Regions from separate parts of the Homo sapiens genome. Here region 2 is linked to region 1. The links are contacts of gene promoters, found by promoter capture Hi-C in blood cells and fetal thymus (Javierre and others, 2016). All regions are on one chromosome and are shown on one strand. Each heading gives the region's core, a stretch centred on a gene start or on the middle of the fragment in contact. The rest is flanking DNA. Distances are from core to core; before and after follow the strand shown. Region 1 holds the start of ADAM19 (ADAM metallopeptidase domain 19). Region 2 overlaps RNF145 (ring finger protein 145).

Region 1 (6,957 bases), core at 4,144-6,643:
GCACTTTGGGAGGCTGAGGAGGGAGGACTGCTTGAGCCCGGGAGTTTGAGACCAGCTTCATCTACATGGCAAAACCCCATCTCAACAAAAATATACGAAAATTAGCCAGGTGTGGTGGTGTGCGCCTGTAGTCCTAGCTACTCGGGAAGTGGAAGGATCGTTTGAGCCTGGGAGGTAGAGGTTGCAGTGAGCCAAGATCGCACCACTGCACTCCAGCCTGAGCAACAGAGAGAGACTCTGTCTCAAAAAAAAAAAAAAAAAAAAAAAAAAAATCTGTTGTTTAAGCCACCAGTCTGTGCTATTTTGTTTTGGCAGCCTTAGCAGACTAATACAGGTTTTGATCCTGAGAAGTGGGCTATGCTATAACAAAATACCTAAAAATGCAGAAGTGAGTTTGGAACCGGGTAATCGGTAGAGGCTGGATGAGCTTTGAGGTGCATGCTAGAAAAAGCCAAGATTGCTTTGAAGGACTGTTGATGGAAGTGTAGATGTTAAAGGCGATTCTGGCCAGGGCTCAGGAAGACAGGAGGAGAGCTATAGAGAAAGCTTCTGTCATCTTAGGGAATGCATATATCACCAGGAACAGAATATTAGTAGAAATATGAATATTAAGAGCTATTCTGGTGAGGTCTACGATGGAAATGAGGAACATGTTATTGGAAACTGGAGGAAAGGTGATTCTTGTGCAGGGGCTAAGGGAAAACTTCCCCTTTGCCCTCTGAAGTTTCAGCAAAAAATCAACTCACAAAAGGCAGATTAACTGGAGACAATGCATACAAATTTATTAGCATGCATGGGAGAGAATCACAGAGTGATTGTCCAATATCCCATTGGGGTATGGACGTTTATATACCCTACTTCTTAGGGGAAAGGGAGATAGGGGAGTGCGGATGATTTTTGGGGGATAGTACTTGATTTTTAGGGGAATTCAGTGGGCTTGAAGAACATACAATGGCCTAGGACAGAGTCTTTTGGCCCACAGACCTGACAATGGTTTGTGACAAAAGTCTGTTCAGGTGTATTGACAGACTTCAGTCTTCCTGCGATATGAATGCAGTTAATGAAAACACAGGGAAGGCACCCGAGACTGTTGTCTTCTTTGGCAGGTCCAGACTTTAGGCACATAAGGGAACTTCAGAGAACAACTTCATGCTGTGCTTTGGGAGAGACAAAGGATTGAGAGACAGGAGAGTGTGGGGGAAGGTCAAAGAGACCTTAAGACTTCTTTAGTTTAATGTGTCAAAGTGCCATATCTTGGGATATTGGTTTCTGAACCCCAATACTACTTACAACGTGGCAAAGGGTTCAGCTGAATTGCTGTGATATTATGATACATATGTATATTGGTTTTAATCCACGGTTCCTGGCTCATATCTCCCATAGCCCTTGTTATAGTCTTTTGTTATGATGTTGGGGCACTTTAGGCCTCAGAAACAGGTGTCAGGAAACAGAATCTGACCTTCTTCTGCCCTTCTTTCACCTGCCTACAGCAGGACTATAATCTAATTGTGAGTCATAGACCCTCATTGCAGAGATGATCCTGGCCTATACTCTTTATTTTTTACTTTTAAAGTATAGAATGCATCATGAATTTTCATGTCATCCTTGCACAGGAGCCAGGGTAATCTCTGTATCTTTCCAATTTAATAGACGTAGTGCTGAAGCAAGCTGCCACATACTGTTGAGGAAGGAATGTTGCACAGAGAGGTCAAGAAGAATCTGAAGACACAGGCCTTGCTGGGTTCATGTTAACAAGTGCTTCTCCGAGTTCTGTGAGCTGCTCTGGTAAACTAATTGAACCCAAAGAGGTGTCCTGGGAACCCCAACTGGAAGCCAGTTGGTCAGAAGTTCTGGAAGAACACACGTCTGGTGTCTGAAGGGGGCCCAGTCTTGGAAACTGAGACCTCAACCTGTGGGATCTGATGCTATCTATAGTGTCTAAATTCACTGCTGCTTGGTGTGTGGGGAAAGCCCCCACATCTTTGATCACAGAAGTCTTCTCTGTTGATTGTTGTTGTGTTGAGTGAGAGAAGAGGAAAAAGCACTTTGAGTTTGTGTTTTCTCCACCACCAATTGTGTTCTAGTGTTTTGTGGAAAGTAGAAATTGCAAGTGATGAACTTAAATATTTAGCTGCAGAGATTTCCAAAGTGTTGAAGATGAGGCCTGGCTTCTCCTCGGTACTTATGTAAAATGTGAGTGGATGGAGATAAATGGAAGGAATTGCTAAGCAAAAAGGAAACAGAACTTGAAGATTTGGAAAATTATTGGCCTATTCATATTGCAAAAAATAAAAAAGGATTTTCTGGAGAGGACACTAAGGGTGTGGCTGGACAATAACCCATGGAGCTAGTCAGCCATCTCATTAGAAGTCAGAAATAGAGATGGGTTTTACCAGCAAAGACATTGCCAATTTAGACCAAAAGGAATAAAGACAGGATGAAACAAAGGAAGGCTTTTAGAATTTTGTTCTACGGGACAGGACAATACAGCTCGCTTCATTCTTTAAGAAAAATGATTCACAGATCATCAGGGTTGCCACTCCCACCACAGCGGGCTGTTGGGGAGGCAGGGAGTGAAAGGGTGGAGTCTCCTTCTCTTGAGCAGGCCAGGCTGCCCCTGCCCAGTGCCTTGGGGTGGGGGACTGTGACAAAGAGCTATGGTGCTGGCCACTGCCTGGTGCTGTGGGGGTGACACTGCTGACCCAGTGGGCCTACAGGGCAGAATATCCAGCCAAAGAAGATTGTTGTAGAGCATTAAGATCTGATGGAATTTGCCTTGCTAGGTTTTGCACTTTTGGGGACTGTCACCTTGTTCTTTTCAGTATCTCTCTTTTGGAATCAGCACGTCTATCCTATGCCTTTCCCACCACATTGTATTTGGAAGCTGAGAGGAATTTTGCCTCAGGATGAAACAAACTTCAAGTCTCACCCATATCTAATACAGATGAAATTTAGATGACACTTCAGACTTGGAATTAATGCTGGAATGAGTGAAGACATTTGGGCTGCTGGGATGGGGTGGATATATTCTGCACGCGAGAAGTGTGAAAGGAAAATAAATCTTAGGACTCCCAAATCACTAAGCCAAGGAAAAAGTCAAGCTGGGAACAATGTCAGGCAAACCTGTCCCCCATTTTATTCTTTTCTTCTTTTTTTTTTTTTTTTTGAAATAGAGTCTCACTCTGTCGCCCAGGCTGGAGTGCAGTGGCGTGATCTTGGCTCACTGCAACCTCCCCTTCCGAGGTTTAAGCGATCTCCTGCCTCAGCCTCCTGAGTAGCTGGGATTACAGGTGTGCCACCACGCCTGGCTAATTTTTTTTGTATTTTTAGTAGAGACAGGGTTTCGCCACATTGGTCAGACTGGTCTCGAATTCCTGACCTCAGGTGATCTGCCCGCCTTGGCCTCCCAAAGTGCTGGGATTACAGGCCTAAGCCACAATGCCAGGCCACCATCCTATTCTTAAATAAGATAGCTACAAAGAGAAACAGCTACATACCTTCCTCACAATTTTCACACAAGGAAATTCCTTGTGGACAAAGGACAGACAGAATTTAAAGCCATCCCTCTGAGGCTCACCGGAAACAAATGCATATCTGATTGCTTCTTCTGCCCTATTGTTTATGTAAAAATGTAGATTCACTGAGCTAGACTAAATTGTGTATTCAGTGGAAGGTTGATCAAGGACTCAAAAGAATGTAACCTCTTCTGTTTCTTATCTACTTATAACCTGGAAGCACCACCCTTTCTGCAGCTTGGAGTTGTCTTGCCTTACCGGACCGGAAGCAATGTACATCCTACACATATTGATTGATGTCTCATGTCTCCCCAAAATATATAAAAGGAGGCTACACCCCCACCACCCTGGGCACATGTTGGGACCTCCTGAGGCTGTGTCATGAGCACGTTCTTAAGCTTGGCAAAATTAACCTTCTAAATTGACTGAGACCTATCTCAGATATTTCGGGTTCACAGAAAGATACGAATTTTACAGCAGCTGGAGACTAACGGAGTCCCAAACGACATTAATGGCCAGAACCACTTATTTGATTTCCCTCATGGGTGCCCATGAGTAGGGTTTGATAGACCTACCTACCCATCATCTTCAGGAGTGCCTCGCCCTCTCCAACACTTAGCACTTCTCTAGTCAACCTGGGTTTGACTAAAGAGGCTCAGAAAAAGGAACAGATGGACGAGGTTTGAGGCTGGGATTCTACAACGAGGCTTTGCTAAAACTTGCTGAGGGATCTTAGGCAAGTCATTTCTCTCTCATTATCAGTTTCTCCACCTGGAAAATAAGGTGTGTTGCATCAGGCTCTGGAGTTATACGGATGTGGGTTTGAATCTAGGCACTGACATTAGCTGTGTAATCTTGGGCAAGTGGTTTAGCCTCTCAGGTTTGATTTCCTCATTTCTAAAACAGGGATAGTACTAGTACCTACCCCATGGGATTACTGGGCTAATGAAAAGAGATAATGTATGCAGAGTCCCTGGCTCATAAAAGTTATTTTCTCCGATTAATTAAATAAGTGAATATGTGTAAAGTGCTGAAGACAGCGTTTGACACTTAGCGTTTTATCAGTCTTAGCTATCATGATTTTCTTATTCTAGTACATAGAAAGTCCTCAATAAGTAACAGTAGTTATTATTATTTTTGGTCACATGTCCCTGTGTTTCCCTCCAAAACCCTAACCATCCCCAATTCTGGTTTTCTCCCCGCATGCAGCCCAAGGGTTTTCACGTCCCAGTGCGATTGTCTGGGCTGTTTCCTCCGCCTGATGTTCCATTTCTCCTCCTCCCGATCTCAGATGGCTTCTCCTCTGGGATTCCTCTGGTCTTCATCACTCCCTCCTCCCAGGCAGAAGGAATGGCTCCTGGATTTGTGTCCTGCTTAAAAAAAAAAAAAAAAAAAAAAAAAAAAAAAAAAAAAGAAGTCCATATAGCACTTAGTTCTTTGTGCCTGGCGGTTGGGTTAACTCTTTCTGAGCCTGTCTCCGAGAGTGGCGGCCCCCGGGGGACGGCGCTGGGTGAATCACCTCTGAGTGTCACCCAAGGCGTCTGGCACAGTGCGGGACAGTAAACGGGCCGCTGTGCGGAGAGGGGTCCAGTTTAACTCCTAGAAGCCCGAGTCCCCGACCCTCTACAGGCCGCGTCCACCACAAATCCCTCCTCCTGGGGGGCTCGGATTCTCCCTTCCCCGCGGTCTCCCTCACCTGAGCCAGCCCCGCTCCCCCGAGTCTCGCCAGCTCCTCCCCGGCCCCTCCCTCCAGCCCCCTCCGGGCTGGAGCCTCCCCTCCTCCATCCCCTGGCGGAGGCCCGCGGGGCTGGAGGCGGAGCGTCTCGGCAGAGGGCTGGGAGCCGGGTGGGGAGGCGCGGGGCGAGCCGGGGGGTTCCAGACGCGCCTCCACCGCCGGGCAGTGGGCAGGTATGGCTGAGGGCGTGTGAGCGCCGAGCGCTAAGGGCCGCCGCCACCATGCCAGGGGGCGCAGGCGCCGCCCGGCTCTGCTTGCTGGCGTTTGCCCTGCAGCCCCTCCGGCCGCGGGCGGCGCGGGAGCCTGGATGGACAAGTAAGTGGCCAGGCGCGGGGGGATGGAGGCTGGGTGGCCCGGAGACCTGGGAGTAGCCTTGCGGGTCCGGAGCGCTGGGACCGCGACCCCTGCGCCTCCCGCAACTCCGCGGGGCCTGCGCCCCCGCCGTCCCCAGCCTGGGAGCCCGGGCTTTGTTCCCACGTTCTGCGCCCTGGGAGGTGGCAGAGGTCGGGGAAACCCGGCGCAGCCAGAAAACAGCCGGTCCGCTCACTGGCTAGCCTTCCCTTCTCGCCTTCTCCTTCCTCTGTTTTTCTGCTTTTGGCTTCTCTTTCCGCCGTTCTCGGGGCTTATCCTCCTCCGTTTTCTCACGGTCCCTCGTGTCCGCTCCGCCTCTCTCTCTGTCTTTCTCTCTACCGCCCGCTGCACTCGCCAACGCCGAGCATCCCGAGCGCCCTGCCCGTGTGGCCTGGGAGCGGCTTCCTGGGACCAGGCTCGGTGCCTGCCACACTGGTGGGGTAGGACATAAAATGCCCGCGGCAGACTGTGGTAGCCTTGGCTAGGGGATGGCTCGCTGGGTATCTGCAGCCACACACTTCGGATCCCCGAGCTGGCAGGAGCCCTACTGAAGGCCAAGTCAAACGCACCCATTTCACAGATGGGGAAACCGAGGCCCACAAAAGGGAAAGGACTTGCCCAAGGCCACGCCACGGGTTGAGGTCCGCGGTGGCACTGGAAACCAGGGCTCTCTTTCCACGCCAACCCGACGGCCGCCTTCTTTGGTCCTCAGTTTCCCCTTCTGTGAAGCGAAGGGGTCTGACTCGATGTTTCCAGCTAAGATGCCGGGTGATGTCCGTGTTTCTCAGGACTAGTTTCCCAGACACCAATCCCCTCCCCGGCTCCATCCCTCGGGGGCTATAAGCAGATTTCGCGGAAGGCTTGGTCCCGGGGGGCGGTGCCCGGGTTCTCTCATTATGACCGGAGAAGGCTTAGCCCTGGCTCCACCGCTGCAGACGGGCTGGGCTGACTCCAGACTGCTGCTTGGGGGACCAACAGTCAGCGTTTTCAAATAGAGCGAGCACCGGCGGAGCGAGGGTGGGCTGGCTGGACCCCCGGGCCGCCTCAAACCCAGAGGCTGAGAGCTCTTCCGACAGTTCGGAACTTCCAGGGGCCGAGGTCGGGCGGTCCTCCCAAAGGGCTCAAAGGAACCGCCCTTTGAGCTGTTGTTCCGAAGGGGAAACTGAGGCACAGAGGAGGTTCTAGGGTAGCACCAGGCCTGTGTCAGTGCTTAGTGCAGGAGAAAAGCATGAAGAAAGACAAGGAAAGCTAGTTACTGCTCCTAGCACAGGCGCCTTCTCTGAGTTTTGAGTCCTTGGAGAACACTTGCTGTAGAATATCTGGGAAATAACGAAAAGTGTAAAAGAAAATGATCTG
Region 2 (7,719 bases), core at 1,672-4,171, 1.6 Mb before region 1:
AAAATTAGCCGGGCATGGTGGCAGGCACCTATAATCTAAGCTACTCAGGATACTGAGGCAGGAGAATCGCTTGAACCTGGAAGGCAGAGGTTGCAGTGAGCTGAGATCGTGCCATTCCACTCCAGCCCAGGCAACAGTGTGAGACTATCTCAAAAAAAAATTTTTTTTCTTTAAAAAAAAAAACTAGATAAATTGTTTTTTGTTTGTTTGTTTTTTGAGATGGAGTTTTGCTCTTGTTGCCCAGGCTGGAGTGCAATGGCGTGATCTTGGCTCACTGCAACCTCCACCTCCTGGGTTCAAGTGATTCTCCTGCCTCAGCCTCCCAAATAGCTGGGATTACAGGTGCCCACCACCACGCCTGGCTAATTTTTTGTATTTTTAGTATAGACAGGCTTTCACCATGTTGGCCAGGCTGTTCTTGAACTCCTGACCTCAGGTGATCCGCCCACCTTGGCCTCCCAAAGTGCTGGGATTACAGGCATGAGCTACCACGCCCAACTGTTTTGTTTTTGTTTTGAGACGGAGTCTTGCTCTGTTGCCCAGGCTGGAGTGCAATGGTGCAATCTTGGCTCACTGCAACCTCCGCCTCCAGGGCTCAAGTGATTCTCCTGCCTCAGCCTCCCAAGTAGCTTGGATTGTTAAAATGAGTATTACCATTTATATTCTAAACTTAATTTTGACAGGAATAAAATTGACCAGTTTCACTGTTTGACATGTGTTCTGCTTTTGAACATTATCAAATACAGGCACTCAATATCTAGGAGGCCAGAAAGAAACTAAAGAAAGGGTGTCAACAGTTTAAATAAACTCTGGGTAAATGAATTATTCAACTGCTAGCTCAGTGCTGACGGTATGGTAGGTATGTTTGTGTGCGTATATGTGTGTTTAGTAGGCATATAAGGAAATACAGGTATTTGAACATCTGAGATTTCTTGTACCAAGTGGTGCTTCTTGTTGCCCATATTGCAAAAGATAACTTGGCACACCTCTTTTGTGTGAAAACAGGTTAGGTTTCTTTGGAATTAACGTTGTTTGAAAGCTTTAAGTAAATAGCCAGAATGTACAAGTTGTTCCTAGGTTGTCCAGTGTCTGAGTCAGGTCGCTGAAGAGACTGTTATAATAAAGGTCTTTAATTAGCTGAAGTGGTAAGCTACTAGGTTTTGTTCTTGGTACCCATTTATTTTTTGTAACATGTATACTTCTCTTTATAAGCAAGAATTTTTCTAATTGCAAGCTCTGAGGCCCTTTTCTTTTTCTTTCTTTCTTTCTTTTTTGAGACAGGGTCTCACTCTGACCCAGGCTGGAGTGCAGTGGTGCAATCTTGGCTCACTGCAACCCCTGCCCCTACCAGGTCCACACAATTCTCCCGCCTCAGCCTCCCAAGTAGCCGGGACTATAGGCATTACCACGCCTGGCTAATTGTTGTATTTTTTGTTTTGTAGAGTCGGAGTTTCACCGTGTTGTCCAGGCTGCTCTCGAACTCCTGGGCTCAAGTGAGCCGTCTGCCTCGGCCTCCCAAAGTGCTGGGATTACAGGCTTGAGCTACCATGGCCGGAGGCCCTTTTCATAGATCTTGTACATTCCTTGTGGCCCCAGTTTGAGTTAAAAGAGGGGAGGCTGTTATACAGGACTAGGGACGTAGATTTTTCAGTTTATTAGTGCCTTGGGGTGATTATCAGCCTTCCACAAGTGAAAAAACATTTAAGAAGGAAAATATTTTATTCAGTTATAAGTAGATTGGCAGGAATTCTTGTTTCTGAAGATATTAAAACATTCTACCTTTTAAGTCTTCTGAAATGAAAAATTGTAATGCTTCTCTTGAATAGCTCACCTGAGTCTTAAGAGAATCATATGTTGTTGTTAAAAGTTAGAATTTTATGACTCTTGCCTTGAACTAATTTTTCACCTAAAATGACTCATGGAATTTTGGATAATTCCCACTTTGGATCCTTCTTATTTAGGCTTACTGTCTTGTTTTTCTTATGTTGTGAATGACCATCCCTGTTAGGACTGATTTACCAAGAATTCTCAATGCCAGCATGAGATACCTGGAATTTGTGCATAAGTAAGATATAGAGATTTTTGTTAACCCTGATTCTTATTTCAGTTATTCTCTACAGTTTGGGATGGGATGCCCAGATCCTCCTTTTAGAAGTGACAGCTCCATAGTGGTTGTGTGGCATACTAGGTAGTTTAGCTGTCACCAAAACTACTGCCTTGACTCTGGCATGCTAAGCTGAGCTGGCCTAAAGAGAGAGTCTGCAGGCTTTCTAGGCCTGGCTGTTTTTACTGAGGTGGGGCTTTTTGGTGAGTCAGCCAAATGGAGGATTTTGGAGGACTGTATTGAAAGAGAGGAATCGAGCAAAGGGGAAACGTTCTAAGGGGCCTAGGGATGATACTAATTTTGAGGCTATGATGAATGATACAGACTTAAATTGAACAGGAATGTGGGGGGCAGTACAGTATTGGAGAGCTAATCCTGGGATCCTAGAGGAGGACAAAGTAAGGAGAGCGAGTGGGAGGAAACCACTTAACATCAGGGCTGTCATTGTGGCCTAAAGGTTGATCATTTATTCTTCTGGAATGCAGACCTCCCTTAGGGTCCTATAATCACAGCAAATCGCAAAGTAATGAGTATAGAGAAAGCAAAAATAATTAAAAAGAAAATAATGGAAAGGATTACAAAGTTAAGAGAAGGCTTAAAAAAGGAATGAAATATAGGGTTGGATAAAAGAAAAGGAAATAGTTAAAACCTTTTATAATAACCATATGAAATAGGAGAAGTAAAATAAGTAGTATTTAAGATAAAAAAGTAAAAGGCAGATAGAAATATTATTAGTTAAATGAAAAAGTTAGAACCTAGAAATAGAGAATAAAAGATGTAGTTTTTAAATATGCTGTGAATTTAAAATCTTTTTATGTATCAATAAAAAAGACGTTAAAATCCTCACAGCATTCTGTATTTTTTCTTACAGCACTGATCATCATCATAATTAAATAATTATAGGACTAAGTATTTATCTCCCCTCCCTGTTTATAAGTTGCGTGCTAGTATGGAATGTGCAGTATTAGCAGAGTCTAGCAGAGTGCCAGCACTTATGTATTCAGTAATTTCTTTTTGAGTTAAAAAGCAACAGAGAATGTTAGTTATCCCTAGAAATTTTGTTGTGTGAAATTAGAATTTAAGGTAAGAAACTCTAAAGAAAGACAAAGTTTTTAAAAAGAGGATAAACTAACGTAGGCTATGAAAAAATGCAGAACAATTAACAAATGTCTCAGCAATCAAATTCTAGCATAATGTTTAGTTTGCTGAGCTTTATTATAAAATATCAATAATATGTGACAAAACCAAACAGTGGAAAGAAAACATGGTAGGGACCTCAATTCTTCTGTCTTTTCTTGTCCCTCACAAAGAGACACTTGGGACTGAGGCCCTTCTGGGGCACTTTGTGGCTTTCTCCTTGGGGATAGTGCTCTTGGAGCTGACCTCTCTCCCTTTTCTAATGTAAAATTCGTATAACATAAAATTAATCATTTTAAAGTGAGCAGTTCAGTGGCATATAGTACATTCATAATGTTGTGCAGCTGTCACCTTTATCTAATTCTAAAACATTTTTGTCACCCAAAACAAAACTCAGTACTCATTAAGCCGTTACTCTCATCTCCCCTTCTCCCCAGCCCCTGGCAACCACCAATCTGTGTTTTGTCTGTATGGATTTTTCCTGGCCCCTGTTTAAACTGTATCCATTGGAGAGAGATATGCTATGACCAAAAAGAAATTATTGGGCTTTAAAGGTCTGGATAGTACTGACACTCAGAGTTGTATCTCTTTTAGGTATAAATTTATTTTTCAAATAGCATTTTAAAATACTTTGTATTAATACTATTTATATATGCATTTTGTTCTAATTTCATAATTCTTTTAATTTTTTAGTTTTCTAACTATATAATTCCATTGATGGTTACCTATAGTAATCAGATATTTATGTGTTATTTGCATTTGTGTCTTTCTACATGAAAACAGGGTTACTCAATATTGCACAGTTGACATTTTGGACTGGATGATTTTTTGTTCTAGGGGCTAGCCTTTGCATTGACGAATATTTAGCAGCATCTTTGGCCTTTACACACTAGGTGCTAGTAATACCTCTCCCCAATTGTGACAACCAAAAATGTTTCCAGAGGTTGTAGAATATCCCCTCAGGAGCAAAATTGCCCCTTGGTTGACAACCACTGCATTACAATAATTCTTCCTGAGAATTTGGCTTCCTCTTTCAGTAGAAAGAGACAATTAATACATTATGTGTTAGAAACCATCATCTAAGAGTGATAAAGGAGAATTGCTAGATCACCCATATAACTTAGTCATGCATTTTTATAATCTCAGAAACTGTTTTAATTCTTTTAACAATTTTTAGTTTTAAGTTTTGATTCTTTTTTGCAAATACCCTTCCGGCTGATTGTGTGAGGGTCTTTCCTTGTTTGGCTATGCAGTGCTAAAGGAATTCCACTTGATTGCCTAATGGGAAGTCATTTCATGGAAAAAGTAAATACAGCCATATGAGTTTGTTTGGAAATACTTGAAATGTTCTCTTTTAAATACAATGAATAAAGCATTAAAAGTTGAAAAAAAGGGAAGAATTTTTTTACACAAACTTCCCTTCTTTGATGCCAAAAATACTTTAGACAAACTGTCTTCCAGTACTCCCATGTAACTTACTGATAATAAACTAAATTCTCCCTGGTTGTGCTTCCTGCCTGTTTTCTGAGTGTGTAAAGGCTCTGGTTATTACTTAAAGCTTACTATTTCTCAGTAGTCACACGTTAAATGAGTTAAATTTTAAAAGGAATATTTTGTTTGATGTAAAATTTGCTTCAAAGTAAATATGTAGCCTACTTAAATATTATAATTATCTTAGATTTCATATAGAGTTGAAAATGATAATTTTTAAGGGTTGTACTCCTATCCCCCAGTTTTCTAACTAGTTTGTGGTTCTACTTGGGACTAATAAAATATAATCGGGGCCAAAACTTTGAGGGAAATAAGATGAGGGTGGGGTGATGGTGGTGGAAGATAGCCAAAAGAGATGTTTAGTGTAATATCACTAGATGTGATTGGTTAGTGTAGTAGAGTTGAGAGAGATCAGCTCTCAATTGGGTTTTTACTGGGCATAAAATATTTAATAAGGCCATGAAAAGAAAGAAAATTTCATAATGTGGAGCTTTGGCAGCTTTCTCTGTATGGTAAAATTCCATTTCAATAAGTTGTGTCTGTTTCTAGTGCACAGAAAACAGAGATGAAGGCCATTTATATATAATTCTTCATATCTAAATTTTTCCTTAGATATGGAAAGGGGTATCATTAACATAATATGCTTTTATAAGCATATTGTGATTCCGCTAGGAATGTATCTAATATATACATTCTAATCAATTTTCTTATTTAGGGACTATGTTCGGAGTGAACTGGAGTTTGCCTATGAGGGACCAATGTATTTAGAACCTCTCTCTATGAATCGGTTTACCACAGCCTTAATAGGTAAGTATTATAAAAGAATTAAAGTGTAGGTAGGAACCGACCAGTCTTACTAACTTATAAAATTCATGCATACTCATTTTTTTTTAAAACGGAATTCTCAAAAGTGATTCATGGGGACTTTTCCCACATATACCCATTGTTTGGTGGTTTTTTTTTTTTAAGTCTTCTTTTCCCCATGTATAGATTATGTATTTATAGTCATATTGTACATAGTGCACAGTTGCTTGTGTTTTTTTAAGGGTTTTTTAAGTATTTGAGAAGATTAATTTTTAAATAGAGCTAATTATTACTTTGAAAGATTAAAATGAAACACGTAGTATCTTAAATTTACTTATTGCTGTTGAAAGCCATGACCTTATTGTCAAAAATGAATGTCCGGAAACATCAAGAACTTGAGATGTGATTGAAATATTCAGGTAGCAGAATGTTAAAAATAGAAGTGTTGGCTAAGGCCTAAAAACAATATAGATACAATTTAAAGTGAAGTACCAGACCCCTGCTACCAGAGTGTACCATGCCAAAATGCAAAAAAGGAAGTAAGAGAAAACCTGTTTTGTGACTTTGAAACTCACCCATGTAGAAGGTGTTAACAGGCCTAATATTAGAGATTAGAGGAGGATTTCTTCAGAGAGAACTCTTTTTTTCTGAAATACTTCCCCAGCCCTTTACACTAGAGGATTCACTGGGGGACCATTTGGGGAGTTATGTGTCTTGTGTGGTGAAGGGGGGAATGCTGTGGACTGGTGTCTGACTCACCCTGGAACATCTTTTTTTTTTGAGTTACACTTTTATTTTTATTTTCTTACATTAAAAAACTTTTTTTTTTTTTTTGAGACAGAGTCTTGCTCTGTCGCCCAGGCTGGGAAAACATTTTTTAGATAAGTTTCTGGGGGAACACATGGTGTTTGGTTACATGGACAAGCTCTTTAGCAGTGATTTCTGATATTTTGGTGCATCCGTCGCCTGAGGAGTGTATGCTGTACCCAATGTGCAGTCTTTTATCCTTCACCCACCTCTCACCTTTCCAGGAGGCCAGAATTCCACTATATCATTCTTGTGCCTTTTCAGCCTGCAAAATCTAAAACTACATTGTCCAAAACTAGCCACATGTGGCTGGTTAGCACTTGCAGTGTGGTGAATTGAGATTAAGGTGTGCTGTATGTGTAAAGCACATACTCAATTTTGAAGACTTGGTACAAACCAGGTTAACTTTTAATACATCTTGTTAACTTTTAATATAGATTGAATGTCTATATGATGATGTTTAGGATATGTTAGGTTATATAAAATATATTGTTGATTTCACTTGTTTCTTTTTACTTTTTGAAATGACACTAATAGAAAATTTAAAATTATATTTGGCTTACATTATAATTCTAATCTGATATAAAGGACTAGCAATAGACTAGTTGCTTGTTGAGTGTTTTGACTGTGGAATGAAAATGCCTTATAGGGTTTTCCTGTATCTTCTGATACAGGAAATTGTAGAGCAAAGGATGTAAGTTTCTTGTGAACTAGACAGTGGCCCCGAAAGTCTGTGTAGGATTTTCTTGGGTCCTGTTCAAGAAGGCCTTTTAGATGGATGAGAAGACCTCAACAGGGATTGACCTTCCAGATTCCCAGGAGCTGAGAAAAGAGCCAAAAATGGCCAGTTGAGGGTGTATACCAAGCACCAAGGGTACTGCTGCAGGTGAGAGAGCCACAGTGATAGGAACGGTTTCAGAAGAACCCATAAAAGGGTCCAGGGGAAAATAAATCAGTTTTAGATACCTCAAGTCTAGGAAGCACCAGTAACAACCACATCATTGTAAGAGTCCAGTTAAGTAGGAACCTGCCTACTTCCCTCCCTCTCCTTCTTCCCTACCCACTTCAATCCTTGGTAAGTCAGAGAGAGAGGGAGAAGTGCTAGGTCAAAAAAGAGAAAGAAGCCAGCCACAACCTCCCCACCTTCTCTCCCACTTGCAGGTTTTCTATCTTAAAGCATAAAGGTAAAAATTAATGCTTTCCCTAGAATGCCTGAACTCTAGAGTAAGGGATAAGTCTCAACTTTAAATCTGTTTGAAAGTTTCAGTTATTATTAAATTGAGACAGTAACCTAAGCTAGAGTAGAAAAGTTATGGGACTTGCCTTGGATTTTATCTAGGGGCAGGAAAACCACTAATCTCTACAGAGTGGATTTT

What was found. Contacts are between HindIII fragments. The CHiCAGO score rates a contact against its expected background, and 5 or more counts as called.
Region 2: a contact is called between a fragment that was not itself captured here and the fragment with the promoter of ADAM19 in region 1, in 1 of 17 cell types (neutrophils). The highest score is 6.8, in neutrophils.

The regions. Positions count from the first base shown.
Region 1 is chr5:157,574,211-157,581,167 of GRCh38, reverse strand. ADAM19 (ADAM metallopeptidase domain 19) reads left to right here and starts at 5,393. Exons shown (of 23, transcript NM_033274.5): 1 at 5,393-5,565. The coding sequence starts at 5,472. It overlaps LOC124901121 (a long non-coding RNA gene), which reads right to left and starts at 6,189. Exons shown (of 2, transcript XR_007059018.1): 1 at 5,798-6,189; 2 at 4,558-4,888. It also overlaps the pseudogene RNU6-390P. RefSeq lists enhancers at 2,147-2,761, 2,762-3,378, 3,379-3,994, 5,852-5,931, 6,168-6,697 and a silencer at 5,242-5,681. The HindIII fragment of the contact is 8,826 bases long and covers 3,916-6,957 here.
Region 2 is chr5:159,179,780-159,187,498 of GRCh38, reverse strand. It overlaps RNF145 (ring finger protein 145), which reads left to right. Exons shown (of 11, transcript NM_001199383.2): 4 at 5,448-5,539. Among named protein-coding and RNA genes, the nearest start is that of RNF145, 26 kb to the left of the region's middle. The HindIII fragment of the contact is 3,760 bases long and covers 1,042-4,801 here.